2 separate regions of the Homo sapiens genome follow, and region 1 is linked to region 2. The links are contacts of gene promoters, found by promoter capture Hi-C in blood cells and fetal thymus (Javierre and others, 2016). All regions are on one chromosome and are shown on one strand. Each heading gives the region's core, a stretch centred on a gene start or on the middle of the fragment in contact. The rest is flanking DNA. Distances are from core to core; before and after follow the strand shown. Region 1 overlaps EVX2 (even-skipped homeobox 2). Region 2 holds the start of LINC01116 (long intergenic non-protein coding RNA 1116).

Evidence for each region. The method cuts DNA at HindIII sites, captures the fragments that hold promoters and counts their contacts. A CHiCAGO score of 5 or more calls a contact.
Region 1: a contact is called between a fragment that was not itself captured here and the fragment with the promoter of LINC01116 in region 2, in 4 of 17 cell types (fetal thymus, naive B cells, total CD8 T cells and 1 more). The highest score is 13.1, in fetal thymus.

What each region holds. Positions count from the first base shown.
Region 1 is chr2:176,071,858-176,077,881 of GRCh38, reverse strand. EVX2 (even-skipped homeobox 2) reads left to right here. Exons shown (of 3, transcript NM_001080458.2): 3 at 1-410. Among named protein-coding and RNA genes, the nearest start is that of EVX2, 9.1 kb to the left of the region's middle. RefSeq lists enhancers at 1,200-2,540, 4,712-5,212. The HindIII fragment of the contact is 1,123 bases long and covers 2,370-3,492 here.
Region 2 is chr2:176,632,456-176,639,157 of GRCh38, reverse strand. It overlaps LINC01116 (long intergenic non-protein coding RNA 1116), which reads left to right and starts at 1,549. Exons shown (of 5, transcript NR_188023.1): 1 at 1,549-1,696; 2 at 6,033-6,125. LINC01117 (long intergenic non-protein coding RNA 1117) reads right to left here and starts at 1,404. Exons shown (of 4, transcript NR_110599.1): 1 at 1,150-1,404. RefSeq lists an enhancer at 215-729 and a silencer at 890-939. The HindIII fragment of the contact is 4,643 bases long and covers 1-2,443 here.

The sequences.
Region 1 (6,024 bases), core at 1,682-4,181, 560 kb after region 2:
TTTACATTTTTAAAAATATTAATATATAATTTAAGGCTAAATAAAATAAACCAAAATATGGTACCCTTTATCAGCTTTACCTATTTAGATTGTTAAAGTCCTTTGTTATGATCAGCTAACAGATGTATATAAGGTACTTTAGGCAGTAATGTTTACATTTCCCCCAAAAAATATATATGATTGATGAGAACGCTGGTTGGTAAAATTAACATAAATTCATCATTTGTTGGGTCCATTGGATCTGGTTATTATATTGAAATAAAATTGTAAATAAAGTCTTCGTGCTTTAAATATTGCTGGATGTATGAACTCACTGTAAGATATTTTACAAATGTGCAATAATTATAAAGCCTTGTATATTACGTTATTTATTGTGTTTGGTCATGTAAAATAAATGTTATTTAAATCAAGGCAGTTTTATTTGTTTAAGAGATTGCAAAATGGTTTGTGCTAGTGTTCGTTTTTAACTGTGGCATCCAGGGTTATGAGAATCTCTTAAAACAACATGTTTAAATCCATATAATACACATATCAGATGGATTAATTCATTCTAATCATTATTTTTATGGCAAATACATTACTCATGTTTATAGGAGACATGCACTCTTCCAAACATTGGTTTAACGTTAATTGGCTGGCTAAACAGATAAGAGTGTTTAGGAGTAGTGTGTGTGTCGATACACATGGTAGAGGACGTGCCGTCATATATATAGGGAGTGTGTACACAGGGTTAGGAGCTGTTTATGTTTGCAGTACTACAAAGGTAAACAAAATTAATTCCTCTATCTAATTAACTTGCCCACTTTTATTCTCCCACTTATGAAGTAAATATTAATATTTAATTCAAGGAAAAAGTTCACTCTTAATAGGAGCTCAGCCCTCTTCAAGCTCAGCCCTCCCTTACTAGTTCCATCTCCTTTGGTCTCTTTTAGGGGTGTACAGCACATTCTTCAAACTTAAGTAGTGTTTCTGTTTGCTGAGGATAAAGGATGCTGTGAACATTTTACCAAATTGGCTATGAGTATTTCAAGCAACTGGATATTTAAAAATATGATTTCCCCTCTTCCTTCTTTCTTTTGCTTTGGTACTTCAGCCCTGTTTTTCTTTCCCAATCCTATCTTCTTTCCCGAGTTCAGTCCACCTCTTCGTGTATTTACAGATCTGTCTTAAAATCGATATTTCGATGGCAAAATGCAAGAGTCAATGGTGTGTGCAAAGCAGTCTATTCGATTTAAAAACCAAGATGTCCCTTCCTCGAAATTTTCTTTTTCCAACTGCTCACCCTGGCATTAATTACAACGATGAGGACACTACTGGGAATACAGAGGCTGCGATCACAAGCCATTTTGGCCTGTAATTTACCATTATTATTGCATTAGCTCTAAATGATACAAGCTGATACCGTCTTTAATTGCAGGTTGGTTAAATATATACTGAAGTAATCCCAAGGGTTCCCTCCCCCTCGATAAATTCTTTTCTCTCTTTCCCCTTCTCTCTTTTCTTGAACTCCCCCATTAAAGAAATACGATTATAGCAGCACATTTGGACTGGTGATGTATCACCCTGGTTTTCGGTGCTCTTTGCTAACTCGGGGGTTGTAACCCTTAAAAACAAAAGCATTGAGATAGATGGGCCAGCAAACGGAAAAAGACAGTGGCCAAAAAACCCTGTCCAAAATAACAGCATTTTTTTTGTCTCGAGTGTGCAAAGAATGAAAAAATAATTCATCATAAAATGCAGAAGACTGTCTGTCATCAAGCCCGAATTGTTTTTGACAAGAAAATAAATCTGTAGGTTGTTTAATATATTTTATATTTTCTTTATTTCGTCGCTAATGGAAAAACCAAATTAAATGTCCACTAGCGAGATAGAAATGCAAAGATCGATGATCCACCCCCCTACTGTCCAATCACCCCTATTTAATTGACTGTATTTTCTGGGTAATTGAACTGCTTGTTGTAAATTGAAGATTTTATAGAAACGACATGAAAACTACATTTACTGACATTCATCGCATCTTTGACATTGATTATCTGATCAACGCATGTCACGGTAACCTCCAATTCTTCATTACACACTGTTTATGAGCTGTTACAGAACAACTTGCTTGTTCCAGGGTGATTGATTGCCTTATTAACGCGTGTTCTTGTAAGTGTGACCGAACTGATTACGATGCATATGTTTAGAATAATGTTTCATTTAGCTGACTGCGAGTAATGCAGGGTGACAGCTGCTGCAGGGAGGACAAAAAAACCTGAACTACAGGGCGCGTTTGGGACCAAAAAGCCCAAGTTATTTAAGGTGGAACGGACCACCCCGAGAGGAAATTCCAGAGCTTGTTGCTGCTCCTTAGTCGCTCGGAGGAAGCTTACCCTGGCATCCCCGCCCTCCAAACTCAGAAATATGAAACATTTGATGAAACAATCGCTACCCTCTGCAATTAAATAAGTTATGAAGACTAAATATATGGTAAGGGTTTTCCTCTTGTTACTTCTCTTCCATAAATTGTATTTCTTTTTCTTCCCATAATGCTCCGGTGTCCTGGATTTTTAGGTGCAAAAAGAACAAGCAAAGAAATTTACCTTTGTAAAAATCTACTTACTTACACACAGCTCCAAACTCAAAATTCTTCAGTCTGCTATGGATTCCAGGAAAGGTGTCCTTTCAATCCTACCCATCCTGAATCCGCTAAAGGAAGACTTATAACTCTCCCTCCCGCTAAAACTTGAGTCCCTTTCCTGGGCTTTCTGAGGAAGGAAAGTGACCTTTTCCTTTGCCAAGGCCCTGAGCGTTTTTCCTAGGCCGATCAGGTCAGAAGCTGGAGTGCATTTTGGTTTTAGGCTGAACCTTTATTGGCAGCTCTCCCAAACCCCAGTCATCAAAGGCCTACACCTGGAGACCCTGGAGAGCAGCGTAGGGCTCACGCTATAATTTGTCTGTTAATGTTATGAGCCATGATTTGATCAGAAGTGGGGATCTACTTTCAAGTAGCATTCTGAGTTTCCTCTCATAAGGAACCAAAGAAGGGGACATAGAGCCCTGCAGTGGTCATGAGAAGTCAGTCTCTTTTCCTTTCCTCTTTTTCCACCTAGGACTGGCTGCACAATTTTTGGTCCCAGTGCAAAATGAACATGTGGGCCCCTTGTTCAAAAGTTATTAGGAATTTCAAGAGGGCAACAACAGAACATCAAATCAAGCTGGGGGGTGGCTTTTAAGCCCATCACCCTGTGTGACTACAAAGATCCCCACCCACGAAGCCTGCCCTGTCTCACCCCCTCTCAGATGGAGAGACTCCCCTTGAGTTTAAATAACTTATCCCAATAAAAGACTGGCTTGGGAGTAGAGAGGGAGAAATGTAGGGGGTTATGGCTCCTGGGGGCACCTCCCCTTTCTTCAGTGACCTTTTGGCCTGATCCCTTCTCTTTCTTTGGAGCCACTCTCACCTCAGCTTCTCTGACCTAAGGTCTGGGTCCAAAGAATCTCATGGAAGCTTCCTGAACCACTTCTGAGGTGGGAAGGGTCACCCTCTCTTCCAGCTTCCTTTACACCAATTTGCAAAGTATCCACAACTAAGCTCATCATCCCTGACTTAGGAAAACCAGAATCAAGGTGTCTCTGCCTGTGACGGAAACCCAGGGGAGGAGGGGTGGTGGCGGGGGTGGGTTGGGAGGATAGTCCAGTCTGCAAACGAGAAAAGGGGCAGGCTGGTGTTTCTGAGGTTTGAACTCAGAGCAGGCACTTTGGAGTAAAACCAGTGACCTCCAGACCCTGTGGTATTCCCAGCCAAGTTGGGGAGGGCTGGCAGTGGGGGTCTTGGTTTTCCTGGAGCGATGGGAAAGCATGCTGTGAAAATGCTTTTTATAGATTCTCCCACCTCCACCCCAATCTTATTTTAATAAATACATCCTCAGGCATTATTTACAAGCTCACATAATTTACCTATGCTATTTGGCAAAGCAACTTCGCAAAAGAAAGTGAATGAATAAATACTTCATAACTGCTGGTAGAGCAGACTGGGTCCTGTAATGAAGAAAAGATTTATGTCACCTTATTTCAGCCCAAATAGCAGCAGCCTCGGCTTGTCTCAGCCCAGTGCTTCTATTTAAATGTTACTTTCATATATTATGTGGCATTAATTTAACTATAGCTCATTAAGGCAGAATGAAATGGTTAAATTAACTTATCAACCCATAATGATGATGAATGAGGTATTAATTCAGATACAAGCTGGGCAATTTGCAAGTTTACGCATTGTGATGGTTCTCAAATAACATTTTGAATAGCGGGTCAGCGCCTCAATCAATTACATAAGCATGTAAAGTTGGTCTCTCAGAAAAAAAATCCTTTTTCATGCATATGCATTAAAACATGTTCGCAATTATCCTCGGAAATTGCCTTCATTGGATTAAGCAGCAGCCTTGGACGCGGGTTCTGATCTTCCCTGGGCTTTTATTAAAGCTCTGAGCAGCTTTGGCAATAACAGGGCGGATGGGCTGTTTGTTTAAAGAGTGTTTACCAAAGAAAAGGGCCGACGGGGTGTGCTGGTTGATAAACAGGGATCTACCTCCTTGGGAGAAGTTGTTAGGAATCGTCTGACTGCCCCGAGGCTGAGGAGGGAACCCTGTCAGCCCAGACATCGGCTCCGGGGCTTCGGCTTTCCGGGCTAGTAATTAACTGCCACCTCAAAACCAGCCTTGGGTTCAGGCTGTGCTCGCCAGGGAGATACCGTGCCCGGCCCAGCGTTCGCCCACTAGGGGACTCGGGCGGGGGGACGGGTAGGCACACAGGCAGCCTCCTGCGATCCTTGGTTCATCCAAGCCAGACCAGCAAATGACTTACTTAGTCCTGGGATGGGGGCTCTGGAGGGGGATTTAATGAGCCCTTTGGCAGGAGCTGATTCAGGGCGGCGGTGACCCGTTGTTTCCACCTTCATGCCAAGACGGTTGGCGAATCTCTGCGGATATCCTGCTCGGTTTGACAACTTTGTGTGGGAGAAGAGTTAGCCCAGGTTCAACTCTGGAGTGGAAGCTACAGGAGGGCAGGGCTTGGCCTCAGATATCTCATCTGCAACCCCACCCCAATCCCGACCCCGACCCCGACCCCCAAGCAGGCCTGGTTTGCCCTCCCTGTTCATGAGGCCTAACTTAAGTTCTCTCTGGAGAAAAGTAAAAATAAAAAAGTCAGAGGCCACGGCAGAAGGCTTTGCGGAAGGGCAGGAGGGATTAAAATGAGTTTTTCTGGGACCTCCTTCTATTCCTCTGCCCCATTTTAAAAAATCTTGGTGAAAATAGGGCAGTTAAATAAAACTTTGGCACTTTCCATATGCCACGTACTGCCAAGAGCATACATTAACTCATTTAATTTTCACCACACTCATACGAAATAGTTTCCATCATTATCCCCATTTTACAGAGGGGTAAACTGGGCTGTGGGATGAACACTTTTCCCAGAGTTGAATATTGCACTGCCCAGATCATGAGTTTCACGCTCTCAGCTACTCCGCTAAGCTGCCCCAGAAGGCTTCCCTTCAAAGAGAGGTGTGTGGGTGACACTGCAGTTCCATAATGGGGCACCCACGGAGGTAGATCTGCATTTGTGTAGGTAGGAAGGACCCTAGTCCGGGTTCCTGAGCAATTCTGCTCCTCTTGGGCAGGCAGAAGGCTATTCGGGTGACTGCAGTCCGGGCGGAAGAGGCGGTCAGGGGTGAGGTGGCCTATCCCCCAACCCCGACCTCATTTTAGGGTCTCTCCCAGGCAGGTCTTTCCCCTCTTTGGATGGGTCAGCTCTGTGGAGTGCTGGCCGAGTGGCCACTTCGAACTCGTGCACTTCTGCTTTCTCGGGTTCGGCCCTGGCTTTCATGCCCGGGAGCTCCGCAGCCTGGAGATGCACACCCCGACACCCTCCTCCCCTAATTTCGCACCCGAGGAGGGACGGCCAGGCGAGAGGGCCCTCAGGGTTGGCCCAGCCTTTCTGCGATGGCAGCGAGGGGTCTCTTCGGAGCAGCCGAGACGGGTGTAACGCCGT
Region 2 (6,702 bases), core at 300-2,799:
ACACTTAGAAATGAGAAGAAAGTGGGGCCGGGCGCGGTGACTGACATGGATATGTACAGCCAACCCCACTGCCACTAGAACAGTCTTAAATGCCCACACAAGGAGTATAAAAAGAAAAGCACATTTTGCAATAGAATAAATTCTTTTTTTTTTTTTTTTTTTTTTTTTTTATTGAGACCGCGGAAAGTCACATGACCCTGCATGTAGCCTTTTAGGAAAGCAACCGAAATGGTAAAGCCAGGAGCCGGGGCTGCCTGCTTCCTCCTGCAGCCTTTCAGCCCGTCCTGTCGCGCGTCCACATTCTTCTGGGCGCATCTGTGGAGCTATTAAGTGGGATAATCCCTCTGGCCTTTGATACATTTCTGGACATGATTATTTCATTACTCGCAGTATATCAGTAGGATCATAATAAAAAGGACTTCTGACAACCTGCCAAGAGTTTTGTGGCCTTGTAAACACAAAAGTGCTCTAATAAAATTTTATTAAGTGTTAAAAAGTCATAAAAAGTGAAATAACATAAACTACAAAATTTACTGTCCTCAGCAAATCCTGAAAATATCTTCCACAGTAAAATTAAATTAGCATGTAATAGACAGAGAAGCAGTGTGGAGTGGATTTAAAAGAGGATCCAGGGAAAATGACACTGTAACCCAATCAGGGTCACGGGGATTTAATTCGGATTTTCCCCCTTAAATGTGGATAAATGTGCTGATTACAGACGAGAGCTCCGGGGTTACTGGAGTCTCACACATTGTCAATACTTCGGAAGAAATAATATATTGCAGATTGTAACGAGCACGGGGAGCCAGCGAAAGGCAGGGCGTCCACTAGGGCGCGCTGAGAGACCGGGAATCCCCGCAAGGGCGCCCGCGCCGCCCGCCACCCGCCGCCGCGCGCACGCCGCGCCCTCGCCCACCTCCAAATAATATTTACAGTTAGGGTTTTTTTTTTTTTTTTTTTTTTTTTTTTTGCTCTCGCCCGTGACATTTTCTCCAAATCGGAAGAAAATCAAGTGTATGTCGAGCTTTGCCGCAGGCAGCCCTTGGTCTCCGCTTTCAGATTCGGGGTCCGGGAGCGGAGCGCCCTGCCCGCGGCGGTGCTAAACTCTGGGGCCAGGGTGTGGCCCTCAGCGAGCGCCCTGGGACTGGCCGCCCCGCCGAAGGATGCCGAGGATCGGGCAAGGCCGGCGTCCGGTCTGCGCGGGGCGCGGGTGCTCTCCGAAGGCCGCGAGCCACGGGCCTCGCTGCGGGTTCAAGTGCGTCCGGGTTTGGACGTCGCGGCTCCAGGAGTGTGCTCTCTCTCCTGCCCATCCCCTCCCCGGAGTTCAGCGCATCCGGGGCCCCGGGGACCCCTCTTCCCGGCCCTCCTGGCCGCGCTGGCCCGCCCGCATGGGGCCGAGGTTCCTGGCCGACGCGCGAGGGCGCGGGCGGGTACCGGGTTCCCGTTTTTCCCAGGCCCCGATCCCCGCCCACGCACGAGGCCCCCGGCCCACGCACGAGGCGCCCACGCCCATCGTGGAGGCTCCGCCTGGAAAAGAAGTCCGACTTCCTCTCCAAGCTGCTCCGAGGGGAATGGGGAATCGGCAGGAAATGACCCGAACTGCCAGCCTGCGCCTTTGCAGCCGGCCCTCGCTTTGCTGAAGACGAGCAGCTCCCACCAAAGTCTTGCCTCCCCTTACCCCGAAAGCCCCGCTCAGGTTTGTAAAGAGGGGTGCGAGATCTGAAAAGTATTTGTCTTCTAGGGAGAGAGATGTTGGTAAGGGGCCCAGAGAAAGACGGGTCCTTTTTAGCTCATCAACGCGCCACGTCTTGCTTTGCAGCTCCAAAATGATGCCAGCGCTGCTGTCCGAAGGGTCAATATTAATGCGTTAAGTGAAATGGGAAATAAATGGACAGTGGCACATTTCGTGGCATCATTTTTACAAGGGGATGTCGAAAGTTTTAAGCTGCATTTAAGAATTAGCCACATCTTGCCTGAAAGTTAATATTTTTTGATAAACTCGTTAATAAAGCCTAGAAGAGGTAAGTTAAAGTTAGTTACCACGTAGATCCTCCAGTCTCTTGTAGAGACTTGCGCAGGTTACTAGGATGAGGACGAGTTGTATTTTTAATTTTCTAGACTAAGTGCAAAGGCATTGAGTTTTGAGGTGGCAGGGTTAATGTTCAAGGGCAAATGGAACCGCCAAGGATCTCTTGAAAAGAATTCACTTACTATTAATACTTAAGCCTGAAATAATTATAATTAATTTACAGTGGGAATTATATGCCCATGTTTTAGACTTTTTTGTTATATTAGCTATATGAAAAGGGATGTTCTTTAGTGATTAAAAGAAAAAACCACCTGTTTATTGTCATTTGCAATTTGAAATAGCCGACAGCAGTAAGGCTAGCTACAAAAGCTAACAAGTCAACTTCAGTGTGGTTTGACATTTACTGTCAAAGCTTTGAGCTCTAAGAAAAACAGAATTTAAAATAATGTATATAAATAATAAAATTTCATTGTGACTCAATGTCCCTGCCCCTGGAGAAGGGACAGATGACACTCAGTGACTGGCTTGGAACCATTCCCCCTGCAGATGCATTTGCGGATACAGTGGGCCAGGGCTGCCTCTGAGTATGTACAGCAAGTGCTTATGGACTTACAGAAACAAATGTTTTACTATTTAGGATTTTCTCAATAGTTTACACTAAAAGTTTTGCATGTAGAAATGTGGGATAAATATTTCTTTGAAAGGAAAAGTTTCGAAAGGAAACTTTATACTTGTATTTTTTTGTGTGTTCACATTTCTAAGTTCATCTGTCTTTCAAAAAACAGATTTTCATAAATATTAAAATATTGCAAGTATTATTTTTAATTCTTTTGAGTGCCATGTTTGCTGTAAGTAGTTTTTTCTTTTAAGTAAGATTAATATAATCCTGTCTAAGGAGTTTAATAGAGAGAACAGGATTTCCAAGCCTATAAATGCAGTCTATATAAAATAGTGGGATCAAAGTTTTTTGTTAAGAAACTTGAGAATTTATACATTTTAAATGAAGATAGAAGCACGTTTTAAAAGTAGTTTTTCCACACCATTTCCCTCCCCCCAAAAGAATTCAGAAACTATATTCCATAGTCTAAAAATGGCATAATCAGATGTAAAAATTATTACCATAATATATAGTTTTCTCAAGATGGTGGATACTTTTTAATATATTATGAAGAGTTATATTCTCAGCCCACTGTGTGTTTGAGGGAATGGAAAAGACAAGATGTTTCTAAACATATTTTACTACTGAAATCCATAAGACTATTAAGCTGTGCAGGTAATTGTGTTCTAAGTGGTAGAAGTATTTTTCCAACTGCTTTTTAAACTTTGAAAAATTTATATGTATTTTAATTAGCACTTTTCTTTTAAAGGTTCCAAATATTTAGCTATATCAGCTATGTGATAAAAATTATTGGAATTTGTTCCCTACTACTTTCTGCATAAACAATTGAGAAATATTTTATACTAATCTTTTTATATACAGGGGATAAATTTGAACATGTGTCTTGTTGGTGTAATAAACAATCCAAATTCATTTCTTTCTTGAAAACTTGGCATCGATCTTCATCTTATTTTTTATGCACACAATTTGGACATGCCAGTTTGTAGGCAAGTTTTAAGACAGTGCAAGTTTTATGTGGAAGAATGTATATTAAGGAATGAATAGCTAATAGCCAAAATTAAATCAGGAGGTGTGGCATTCACTCCTTTGGATGATTATTTTAAAGATAGTTTTGCACTCAGGAAGGATTTTCTTATGCTCTGTATTTATGAATATCTAAATTATCCTGCCTTGCAACTTCAAAACTCAATAACCAAATACCAAATTTATGTATTTTCAGTGTGACTAAGGCTAGGAATATGAGAAGCAGATTGGTTTTATAAAAGAAAGCAAGCATTTACAATTGTATTTTAAAATATAATCCTAATTTCAGTTTCTGACAGAAATCTTGTGGTCAGCTCATCAGTTTTTCAGATCAGTTTCTAAATAGCATATAAAAACTACCTTTTCCACATCAGAAGTTCATATTTAGGTTTCCTTAACTGCAAAATCACTTTAAAAGAGAGTGTTTTATGTGAAGGGCCATTTCATGTGTTGGTTCCATCGATTACATATGAATGTATAAAAATCTTGTTTAAAGACCAGTAAAAGTGAGGAAATTCCAAGTCAGGCTGGCTAATTCCATTCATAATTCATCCCGAGTACCTGACTGAGGAAACTTGCAAACAGTTTATAGCTATACATACAAAATAAGTTGACGTGCTTTGTAAGCTGGAAGCAGAGTTAAGTTTGACCTCCCTGCTTGGAAGGTCTTAAATTAATAAAATTATGGAATATGGTTAAGCTTTTCAGTTTCCCAAGAATTTTCCAATATCGATGCTTTTTGGATTTTTGCATTTTGAAAATGTAAGCATGGAAGGACAACTTCTTTTGTGCTGAGATGAAGTTAGCTTTTACCCATCCATTTCCTTCCCACTTAACACATTTGTTCAGTAATTCTTCGAGTGCTGGGGGACAGAGGCCCTGCCTTGAGAAAAGCATATGCCATTTCTCTGCCCCCTTCAACCATCCCCACCCCCAGCCCTCCCTTTATTTCAAGCCAGTTGGACAAGTATTTAGCATTGACACATGTTTCAAACTGCTGCATCCACAGCCCTAGGTAGTTTTGGGGATTGGCAGGAAATCCATCTAGACTTTGCCTTCTGAGCTGGGTAAAACTACTAGGAAGTCCTATGCCTTGATATTGTGGCACTTCTAGGCTGTCTTTCCAATTTTAAGCAATCCATCAGTTGTTTTCTAAGACTGCACTGTAGACTGATGCCTTCTCTTAGTTTTGATGTTCAGAAGATTTTTTAAACATGTTCATAGATTTCTTAAACATTCTGAGTAATTGTAATTTTAAACTAGACTAATTTTAGGGTTGAAAACTGTCCCAGAGAGAGTCCTTACATAATAACTTCAATCTGATGTGAACTCGAATGACTTTTTAAAAATAAGATGTTGAAAATGTGGGTTTCTGGTGGAAAAGGCTGCCATTCACTTAGAGTGGGATCCTTAGGACCAGTTAATATCCACCAGACATGCTTCAATAAACTGGAACAAGCCTGATGTGGAATTACTGACTCCCCATTTTCCTGAATGTAGGTCATTTTGTGTCCTTACAATTTAACGTTTGAAGGGATTTCCTGTCTTTGAAGTGCAACAGTTTGTCACCTGCTTGGCTAGCTGCCTTAACAGTTGGGGCTCCTTTCCTACATTGAAAGACTTAGTGACTCCATGTTCCCGGGCTAGAGTTTCCCAGCTCACTGAATGCATGATACCTGCACCTCTGGGACTCTCCTCTACAAGTTAGTGCCTGCAGATCCCCTGTTCCAAGCTTCATTTCTCTAGGTCAAAGAGCCTAAAAGAAAAGCCCGGGCCGGGCGCGGTGGCTCACGCCTGTAATCCCAGCACTTTGGGAGGCCGAGGCGGGCGGATCACGAGGTCAGGAGATCGAGACCATCCCGGCTAAAACGGTGAAACCCCGTCTCTACTAAAAATACAAAAAATTAGCCGGGCGTAGTGGCGGGCGCCTGTAGTCCCAGCTCCTTGGGAGGCTGAGGCAGGAGAATGGCGTGAACCCGGGAGGCGGAGCTTGCAGTGAGCCGAGATCCCGCCACTGCACTCCAGCCTGGGCGACAGAGCGAGACTCCGTCTCAAAAAAAAAAAAAAAAAAAGAAAAGAAAAGCCCGGAGCCATACACTCACCTGGTTGAAGCCATAAAGAGGTAAGCTTTCATAACGTAGGCTATATATCAAAATTCATAGCTTTTTAGAACCGGAGTAACTAGTGCTCAGGCATTAGAGTCTCAGGCTAGAGCAAAACACAGCAACTGGTGCCAAATGTACGCTAGTGGCTGAAACCCATTTAAGTAATAAACAAACAAATGTCCTTTTAAGAATGTGCTATTATTTTTATTTAAGAATGCATATGACTTTATCGCCCCTTATGATGTGAATCTTACAGTTCAATATTTCAAGTGAAAATCTGCCTGTTCGAAAAGAAAATATTCACAAATGAGCAGTGTATTAGAAGACAACTGAATTGCTTCTAAGAATGGTGGGTATGCTAATTTTTACCAAATGATACAACATGTGCATGCCAAAGCTCTTTGTAAACTATAACACACCTCCAAATGAAAGCAATTTGCATATATTTTAATAAACTTGTCTGCCTTTACCACATCCACCAACTAATCCTTATGCTCCCACTGCAAAGACTCTCCTCTTTTTGGAGAGGAACACCAATTGTTTGAAAGCCTGGACTTTCAAACAATCTTAAGGCATCTTCATAGTATCCGTCCTTAAGAGTGCTTTCATCTTAATATTAGGTAAACATTTAGAAGATTATGAACTTTGGGGACTTTCTTTTCAGAGAACTGAACACGTGTATATAAAATTACAATATCCTGATAAGTGAGGGGAAGAAAATAAAAATAGGTGTCAATACAGTTATGGCTTAAGATCTTGATGAAATTGAGAAGAAAGTAGAAATCAAATGCATCAAAGGAAGAACGGTCAGACTGAATTCTGTTTGTAATTTTTTCAAAATGAACTGAAATGCAGTTTTTCTGACTATATGTTTTCTTTTATGGACATTAATCACTTTGATTCATTTAATTTCTCTGGAAGAAACT